Linked DNA regions of Homo sapiens: regions 1 and 2 are each linked to region 3. The links are contacts of gene promoters, found by promoter capture Hi-C in human tissues and cell types (Jung and others, 2019). All regions are on one chromosome and are shown on one strand. Each heading gives the region's core, a stretch centred on a gene start or on the middle of the fragment in contact. The rest is flanking DNA. Distances are from core to core; before and after follow the strand shown.

Region 1 (2,830 bases), core at 68-2,567, 260 kb after region 3:
TTTAATTGGTGGTGTGGCTATAGGGCACCCAAGCCTTGGGGACCACATGACTCTCCCCCAGGAAAATCATGAAGCAGGGCAGTCCCCAGCCCTGGGTTAGAGCTGCCTCCTCTGAGCGTGTTCTCCCCGGCAGCCCTTGGAGAGGGAGGAGGGGACCCCCTCTGGGAGGGTCCAGGCATACCCCCAGGTATCCTGCCCAGCAAATCCCAACCCAGGCCTGCGGGAAGGAGGGGGAGCCCTCACCGCTAAGCCACCCCCACCTCACCACCGGAAAAACCAACAACCCGAAACCCCAAAGGAAGGAGAATGCCAGGGTCTTCATGGGGAAACATTTCACAAATGGGGACGCTCGGGCGGTCCATCGCCTTGAATCGGAGCATTCCCGCTGAGTCACCCAAGAAGCCTGTGGTGTTGAAACTGGTCCGTTGCCTCGTGCTGATTAATGAATTACAAATCCCCCACCCATGTACATTCTCCCTGGTCACTGGAGGAAGAATGAAGAACCTTGTGAACTTGAGGGAAAAAGTCCCGCCAAGTGGCCTCTTCTCGCCTCTGGGCCGGGCAGTGGGCCTGCAGTGCCCTCTTCCTCCCCCGCAGGGGGCATTGTGAGCTGGTTAGTCACCTGCCCCAGCCCCAGCGCCTCGCTTAGCTCTAGCTTTTGGAAATGGGACAAGCGGCGGGACAATAGGCAGGGGGGGCGGTCAGCCCAGACAAAGGGCAGCAGGAAAAACACCATCACTTGCTCCCAGGCCAGCTCGCTGGCATTTGGGAGAATGTGTCATTGCATTTACTCAAGGGGGAGGAGGAGGGAAGGTTAGAGATGAGGAGGCAGAGGTAGGGTGGGAGCAGGGACCTCGCACAGGCAGAGGTAGGTTGGATCAGGGACCCCGCATCGGCAGGGGACAGGGGGCAGGGGGCGGTGTCCCAGGCCAACGCCTGGGGAGAAGCCCACCCGAAGCCGGCGCTGTCCCCCGGCTCCTGGGAGTCCTCAGACGGACTGATGGCCTCCCCGCCCCCTCCCCCAGGAGGCCCAGGGTGGTACCGCCACAGCCTCGCCTCACCTCACCCCCCCTCGGTGCTGTGGGAGGGAGAGGGAGCCCCAGAAGCCCTCCCTTCCCTCCTCCCCCCTCCTACCCCCACCCCGGGGAGGGCCGCTACAATTTGTGGTTACAGCTTTACACGTCAGAAAAAAAAAAAAAAAGTTTGCAGAATGTCCCACACCGAAAAAAAAAAAAAATCCGAAACCGAGCGAAAAAAACCTGCGAGTGGGCCTGGCGGATGGGATTATTAAAGCTTCGCCGGAGCCGCGGCTCGCCCTCCCACTCCGCCAGCCTCCGGGAGAGGAGCCGCACCCGGCCGGCCCGGCCCCAGCCCCATGGACCTCCGAGCAGGTAGGAGCCAGGCGGCCGAGGCCCCGACCCCCGCCCCGCCAAGCAGCCACGAGATCCGGTTCCCGTCCTGCCCTGACCCCCGGGAGCCCCGCGCCGGGGCCGGGCCAGGGAGCTGGGCTCGGGCCGGGGGAGGCACGGCTGGGCGCCCTCGAGAGGGGCCGGGCGGGGACGCGGCATTCCTGGAGTCCGCACGGCGGGGCCAGGAGGTGGCCGGGAGCGGCGGGGAGCCCGGACGATCGCAGACCTGGGGAGGCGGCAACCTGGAGCCCCAGCGAGGCGGGCCGTAGGAGCCGCAGCCCCAGAGCCCCGCGCACCAGTCGGGGCCAGAGAGTCCGAGGCGGGGAGCGAGGCTGCGGGTGGGAGGAGGGGCTGGGAGAGGAAGAGGGAGGGAGGCCGGGGGAGCCCGAGGCCGGGCGGCGGGAGGCGAGGGGAGGCCGACACCTCGGGCCGCGCCGCTCTCCCTCCCCGGCCCGCCGGGAGGGGTAGGAGGGCGGGCGGGAGGAAGGGCGGGCGGCGGAGAGGAGGGCGGAGGGCAGCGCCGAGCCTGGCTGGGCCGGGCCGGACGGGCCGAGCCGCGCCGCGGGACTCGCGGCTTCCTAGCTACGCGCCGCGCGGCCGGAACCCTCCATGGTGCCCACGGCCGGGGAGCCGGCGGCAGGTAGGGGCGGCGGGCGGCGGCCGCGAGTCCCCCGGGCCACCGTGGCCTGGGAGTGATTATTGTTTGGCGGGGGGCTGGCGCAGCCGGGCCGGACCCGGCAGGAAAAAGTCTGTCACTGGCCAGGGAGCGGCGGGAGCAGCCGCTCAGCCCGGGCAGGAGGGGAGTTGACGCGCGGGAAAGGGCAGCGCCGGGCAGAGCCCGGAGCCCGGTGCCCCGGACCCCGCCCCCGCCCCCGCCCCCGCCCCCGCCGCGGGGAAGGAGCGACCGGGCGGGAGCGGGAGGGGGCGGGGCCGGGGGCGCCGAGGCCACACAGGGGGAAGGCGCAGCGCCGGGAGGGGTCCCAGAGCGAGAGGTCACCGCCAGCAGGGAGGGCCAGCTGGCAACCGCCGCCGTGCAGCTTCCCGGCCGAGCCCCTCGAAGGAAACCTTCGAAAGAGTCCCCGGGGCTCGCCAGAGGTCCCCTCATGCTTGCTCTCCCCACCCGCCTTCCTTTCCACAACTCCGTGCTGGGCTTCTGGAGCCCTCCCCACAGACCCTCCCAATCCCAGAGGACCCCTGTTCCCCCAGCTCCCAGCCTGGCCCTCCCCCCGGGGTGTGAGGGGCTACCAGGAGAGGAGGGGAGACGGGCGGGTGGAGGCTAAGCCTTGGAGAGAGGCTAGGGGTGGGGGGCACTGGGCACGCTGCTCTACTGGGTCCTCCTTCTCTGACCCTAACCCAGGGACACCTCTGTGCTTTCACTGACCCCGACTGACCTCCGCCACAGCTCGGGAGCACACGTTGCC
Region 2 (2,802 bases), core at 163-2,662, 340 kb before region 3:
GGGCAACAGAGCAAGACTCTGTCTTAAAAAAATAAATAAATAAAAATTACGAAAAAATGTGCTTGGATGGGCTTGACAAACTTTAGCCATTAGCTCACGTACTACTTTGGAAGGGCATACCTTCAGTCACTTCACCCTTTAATCCCTTTGCTCAAGACTAAAGTTCTGAGAGGAAGTCTAATCGGCTGAGTTGTGTCCATGTGGGCAGTGCAGCAAAGGGTGCAGCGGGAGGCGGCTCCAGGGACGTCTTTGGCTTCCATCATGGGGGAGCAGGTGCCTGGATTATCCACCCTAACAAATCTGGACAAAGGAAAACGAGGTTCTCTGAGGAAGGAGACATAGAGCCCAAGGAGCTAACCAAGAGACAAAGAGTCACCCTGTCTTGTCATTTTCTTTTACACATGTGTGTACATTATCTTACACTTATCACTTTGTTTTCTTTCTCTCCTTTAATTGCACCCTGTTGCCAAAAGTTAAAATAAAATGAAAGTATTGAGATAGCTCAGTAACTGACTTTTGGTCAATTGCCTTTTCATGTAGTGAACAGCTGCCCAAACGATTGTCTCTGTCACTGTGCAAATTTGCAAGCGTTTGCATGATCACTCCCAATCCCCCAACACAGGGCTGTGTTATAGCACAATTCAGTTCAGTGTTTTGCTCTCTGCAACAGGGAGGCTCTCATCCATTACAGGTTGCAGTAAAAACAGGGATACCATAAGCAACCACCTCTTTCCTCAACGATGTGATGAAAGCAAAAGCCAAGTAGCTCCATATATCCAACTTAAAAATATAAAAAGTTACGCCCGTGGGCTGCAGTTGGAGCTATGGCGGCAGCAGCTGTCACTGGGCCTAGCCTGGGGTGTGGACCTGGGGACTCCCCAGAAGGCCCCGATGTGGAGGCTCACGGAGCGTCGGCGGAAGGCGCACAGGATGCTAAAGCTTTACAACGGCCTCTCAGAAGGGGAAGCGGTGGGACTCCCTGCAGGGCCCGACCCCCTGGACCCCACTGATCTGAACGGGGCACACTTTGACCCGGAAGTTTACCTAGACAAGCTGCCTAGAGAGTCCCCTCTGGCCCAGCTGATGGACAGTGAGACGGACATGGTGCAGCAGATCCGGGCTCTAGACAGCGACATGCAAACCCTGGTCTATGAGAACTACGATAAGTTCATCCCAGCCACAGAAATGACAAACAGCATAAAACTGTATGAGGAATTGCAGGAGACCCGGAATTTCTCAAATAAACTTGTAAAAGAGGAACAAAGTTGGAAGACTCACAAAAAAAAAATACATACATACATACATATATATATATATATATATATATATATATATATATATATATATATATGAAAAGTTGTGTTTTCGTTCGGTTGTAAATGTTTAGTAATTTCTATTGAGATTTTTCATTTAACTCATGAAAGGATATTTTTAATTTTCCTAATGCATGCTTGTGTTTAGCTATCTTCTTGCTGTTGACTTCTAATTTTGTTGCATTATGGTCAGGAAAATGTGGTCTGGACAATGTCAATCGTATAGTGGATTTTGTTGAGACTTCTTTATGGCCTAATATGTGGCCAGTTGGTTTTTTTTGTTTGTTTGTTTTTTTGCTTTTTTTTTGGTTTTTTTTGCAAATTTGCCACATGTTGTTAAAAGGAATGTGGATTATTTGTTTTTTTTAGGAGAGTTTTTATTTTTAAATAGATAAGTTTCTCAGTGCAATTGAAATCTAGCTTCAATTAACAATATGCTAGATCTCTCAAACCTTAGGATGTTAGTCAGTGTTAACAATAGACTGCTGCTGAGATGAATAAACCCTGAACTCTCAGTGGGTTAGCACCCATAGCATAGTCTGGTGCAGGGCAGGGGTTCTCCTTGGGGGCCGTTGTCCAACAGTGATTCAGAGATTCTGGAGGTTTCCATCTTTTAATTCTGCCATCTCAGAGTTTTTCACTTGTAGCCATATGGATAGGAAGAGAGGGAACATAGCTCACACTTGCCTTTGATAACCTTGGCCTGAAGGGATTTCTTACATTCCTATTGGTGGAAATGCAGTCACATGGTTCCAAACTAACTGCAAGTAAGGCTGGGAAATGTAGTCTTTCTGCATGTCCAGGAAGAGGAATGGTGTGAACACAGCATTGTCTTTGACACACTAAGCATGTGCTAAAGAGTTCTTCCTCTTATAGGAGGTATGTCTGTCCTGTGCAACTTTCTCAGTTTTTGCTTAGATAGTTTCAGGCAATGTTGTTTGGTGCATTCAGCTTGATGATTGTTATGTCCTCTTGGCAAAGTAGTCAAGATTCCCATCAGTTTGAATGAAAGCGTTTTACAGATAGGTCAGGAAATGTTAATACTTTAAAAGGCCCTTCTATTCCTCCACTCTACAGATAAGAACAACAGAGTCCTAGAGAGAGGAGGTCATGGGTCTCACTCATGAGTGGCAGAATTGAAACCAACATGGCAGTAACTTTGCCTTTCCCCCATCATGTTGTTCTCCCTCTATCTTCACTCTGCTGATTTCTTCACTTGCTCCATGCAGACCTCCCAGTGCCAAGTCTATAAACGTGTCTGGAATTGGTGGGTTCTTGGTCTCACTGACTTCAAGAATGGAGCCGCAGACCCTCCTGGTGAGTGTTACAGTTCTTAAAGGTGGCGTGTCTGGAGTTTGTTCCTTCTGATGTTCAGATATGTTCGAAGCTTCTTCCTTCTGGTGGGGTTCGTGGTCTCGCTGGCTCAGGAGTGAAGCTGCAGACCTTCACGGTGAGTGTTACAGCTCTTAAGGCTGCATGTCTGGAGTTG
Region 3 (2,700 bases), core at 21-2,520:
CGAAGCTCTGCCCAGTGCCGTCCGCATCCCTGGGAGCACACAGTAATATTAAAAGTGGTGACTCCAGCCCAGTGGCAGGGCTGCACTTGCCCAGATGAGGATCGAAACTGGCGCTCAGAGAGGCGCGGGACCTGCTCAACGTCACACAGCAGAGCATGGCGGACACCCGCCACCCCACGTTTAAATGCTGTGCGCAAGGCTGGGGTCATCTGGTCCCCAAGCCCAGGGTCTGGTGGAAGGGCGCAGAACCACGGTGGTCAGTGACCACAGGGGCCGAGGTAGGAAAGGGGGAGGGATTTGGGAATCCGGTCAAGACTCAAGGCAGGAAGGGAGAAGAGCTCTGGACGCTGGGACAAGGAGGTCAAAGGCCTGGGGCTGGAGTCCGACGGAGCCAGAGGGGAAGACAAGACTGGGGGCGGCGCGCGCCACCCAGCGGTATCGGGAGGGAGGACCGGAGGGAGGGCTGGGCCGGACGCTCCTCTCGCGCACCGATCGACCTCGGGTTCCTGGAGGGGCGTCCCCGTGGGATCCCGGCTCCGTACATCCTGGAGCCCCTAGGGGAGGGACGGACCAGTGGGGGCCGGCGGGGCCTCATCAGACACCCCAACGCCAGGACCCAACGGGACCGAGGACGGTCGCCGGGCGCTTCACGGTTCGCGTGGTTTCAGGATCTCGGAGAACACAACCGGCAGGTCCTGCAGCTCCGCGCCCATCTCCCTCCCCGCGGCCACACCCCCGGCCACGGCCCGGCCCTGCCGGAAGCACAGTCCTCCTGGCCACGCCCCCCAGTCCTTCGTAGCAAAAGCTCCGGTCCAGGCCCCGCCCCCAGCCCGCCCCAACCTCGATTGCCTACTAGGCCCCGCCGCCCTTTGGCAGTAACGTCCGAGTCCGGCTCCCGCGCAGGCCCCGCCCCGCCCCGCCCCGCCGCCCTCCGTCCCTCCCATCCGGGGGACTCAACGCGTCCCACCGAGGCCCCGCCTTCAAACAGGCCCCGCCCCCTAACGGACCCCGTCCCACCGAGGACCCGCCTTCAAACAGGCCCCGCCCCCGAACAGACCCAGTCCCACCGAGGCCCCGTCTCCGGGAAGGCCCCGCCCACGAACAGACCCACCCCACTGAGGCCCCCCGACGCCGCTGCCGCTCTGCAGCCCCCCAGGCGGGACGCGTCGCGCGGGCTGCCCCTTCTCCCTCTCAGCTTTCGGAGGGACCCGGGCTGAGCGCCCCGCCCCGCCTCGCCCCGCCTCTTCCCTCGCCCGATCCCGCGCCCTCAGTGTCCCGGCCGCGCAGGACTTGACATGCTGCCCGACTGCCTGTCGGCCGAGGGCGAGCTGCGCTGCCGCCGGCTGCTGGCAGGGGCCACGGCCCGGCTCCGCGCGCGGCCCGCGTCGGCCGCGGTGCTCGTGCCGCTCTGCTCAGTGCGTGGGGTCCCGGCGCTGCTGTACACGCTGCGGTCCAGCCGCCTGACCGGGAGGCACAAGGGCGACGTCAGGTACAGCGGCCGGGAACTCCTCGCCCTTTGCCGGAGGCTACAGGAGCCCGGGGCTGGCAGGGACCTCTGGCAGGGCACTTAGCCCCTTCGAGCCTCGGTTTCCGCCTCCGTAAAATGGGTCTGGGGAGAGTCCCTCCGCCCAAGGGCTGCAGCGAGAGGTCAGCGATCCGTGTCCGTCGGCCCCGGTGCACCTGCCGGGGCGCCACGTCCTCGCCGCGTGGGCCCCTCGTACGCGTCCTTGCGCGCACGCCTGGGCCGGGACACCCCTTTGAGCTGTTTCCCGCTTAGAGGGCGGACGCCGCCCCCTGCCGGCGACTACGGAGAGGTTCGGGCCCCGCCCGGCGGGAATTAAGAACATCCTGAGGACAATGTCAGTGTTGCTGGGGCCACCATAGGCCGAATTTGGGTATCTGAGCCCCAGGATCTTCTTGCCCCTGCTGCAGACCCTCTTATCCTGCGCTGTCCCGGGCCTCTCTTCCTTATCCCCATTGCTCAGGGAGGTAAACTGGCCTCCAGAGGTCGCATGGCTTGCCTGGGGCCTCCCAGTAAACTAGGGGCAGAGGCAGGCGACACTTCGGTGGGCCAGTGGCCCCCCCCGCACTGCCGATACCCCGACCTCTCCGTGGCCCCAAGAGTCCAAGGACCAGACTCCTTGTGTCTGTTTAGTTTCCCAGGCGGCAAGTGCGACCCGGCTGACCAAGATGTGGTGCACACGGCCCTGCGGGAAACCCGGGAGGAGCTGGGCCTGGCAGTGCCCGAGGAGCACGTGTGGGGCCTGCTGCGGCCTGTGTATGATCCGGTAAGCCACTTGGCTGAGGCCACCCCACCCCATTCACTCACTCTGTGCCTGCCCTGGAGCTGGGCTACCAGGGACCAGGAGAGTGGTCATGGACCCCCACGGGCACAAAGTGTGGAAGGGTGCCCCTAACCTGCCTGGTCACATGCACCACCCCACACACCCCCTCGGGAAGGGATTGGGGAGGCTCTGGTGTCCTGAGTAGAGGTGGCCCAGGGCGATGGGGTGGGCCAGCTCCACTCAGTTTGGTGGATTAGGGTCAGGGAAGCTTCATGGGGTAGGCAGGGATTGAACCCAGGCTTGAATGCCAAGTGGGAGATTGTCCTAAGCAGAGGGAACAGGTCTAGTGCATTTGAGGGGACCTGAGTCAGTCAGCATGGCTGGAGGACACAGGCAGGTGGACCCGAACATGACT

Evidence for each region. The method cuts DNA at HindIII sites, captures the fragments that hold promoters and counts their contacts. A contact is called where the count stands out against the background at its distance.
Region 1: a contact is called between the fragment with the promoter of CLCF1 here and the fragment with the promoter of NUDT8 in region 3, in 1 of the 25 tissues and cell types used here (heart left ventricle).
Region 2: a fragment that was not itself captured here is called in contact with the fragment with the promoter of NUDT8 in region 3 in 5 of the 25 tissues and cell types used here (H1 embryonic stem cells, heart right ventricle, liver and 2 more).

What each region holds. Positions count from the first base shown.
Region 1 is chr11:67,372,085-67,374,914 of GRCh38, reverse strand. CLCF1 (cardiotrophin like cytokine factor 1) reads left to right here and starts at 1,317. Exons shown (of 3, transcript NM_013246.3): 1 at 1,317-1,391. The coding sequence starts at 1,376. The region is part of intron 2 of LOC100130987 (a long non-coding RNA gene); the gene reads right to left. RefSeq lists silencers at 979-1,028, 1,589-1,928. The HindIII fragment of the contact is 15,975 bases long and covers 1-2,830 here.
Region 2 is chr11:67,964,250-67,967,051 of GRCh38, reverse strand. It overlaps LOC112268076 (translation initiation factor IF-2-like), which reads left to right and starts at 892. Exons shown (of 4, transcript XM_047427952.1): 1 at 892-1,205; 2 at 2,543-2,580. The coding sequence starts at 892. The HindIII fragment of the contact is 4,449 bases long and covers 1-2,802 here.
Region 3 is chr11:67,628,507-67,631,206 of GRCh38, reverse strand. It overlaps NUDT8 (nudix hydrolase 8), which reads left to right and starts at 1,270. Exons shown (of 4, transcript NM_001243750.2): 1 at 1,270-1,489; 2 at 2,156-2,288. The coding sequence starts at 1,296. RefSeq lists silencers at 348-517, 638-1,427, 1,718-1,867, 2,435-2,700. The HindIII fragment of the contact is 11,433 bases long and covers 1-2,700 here.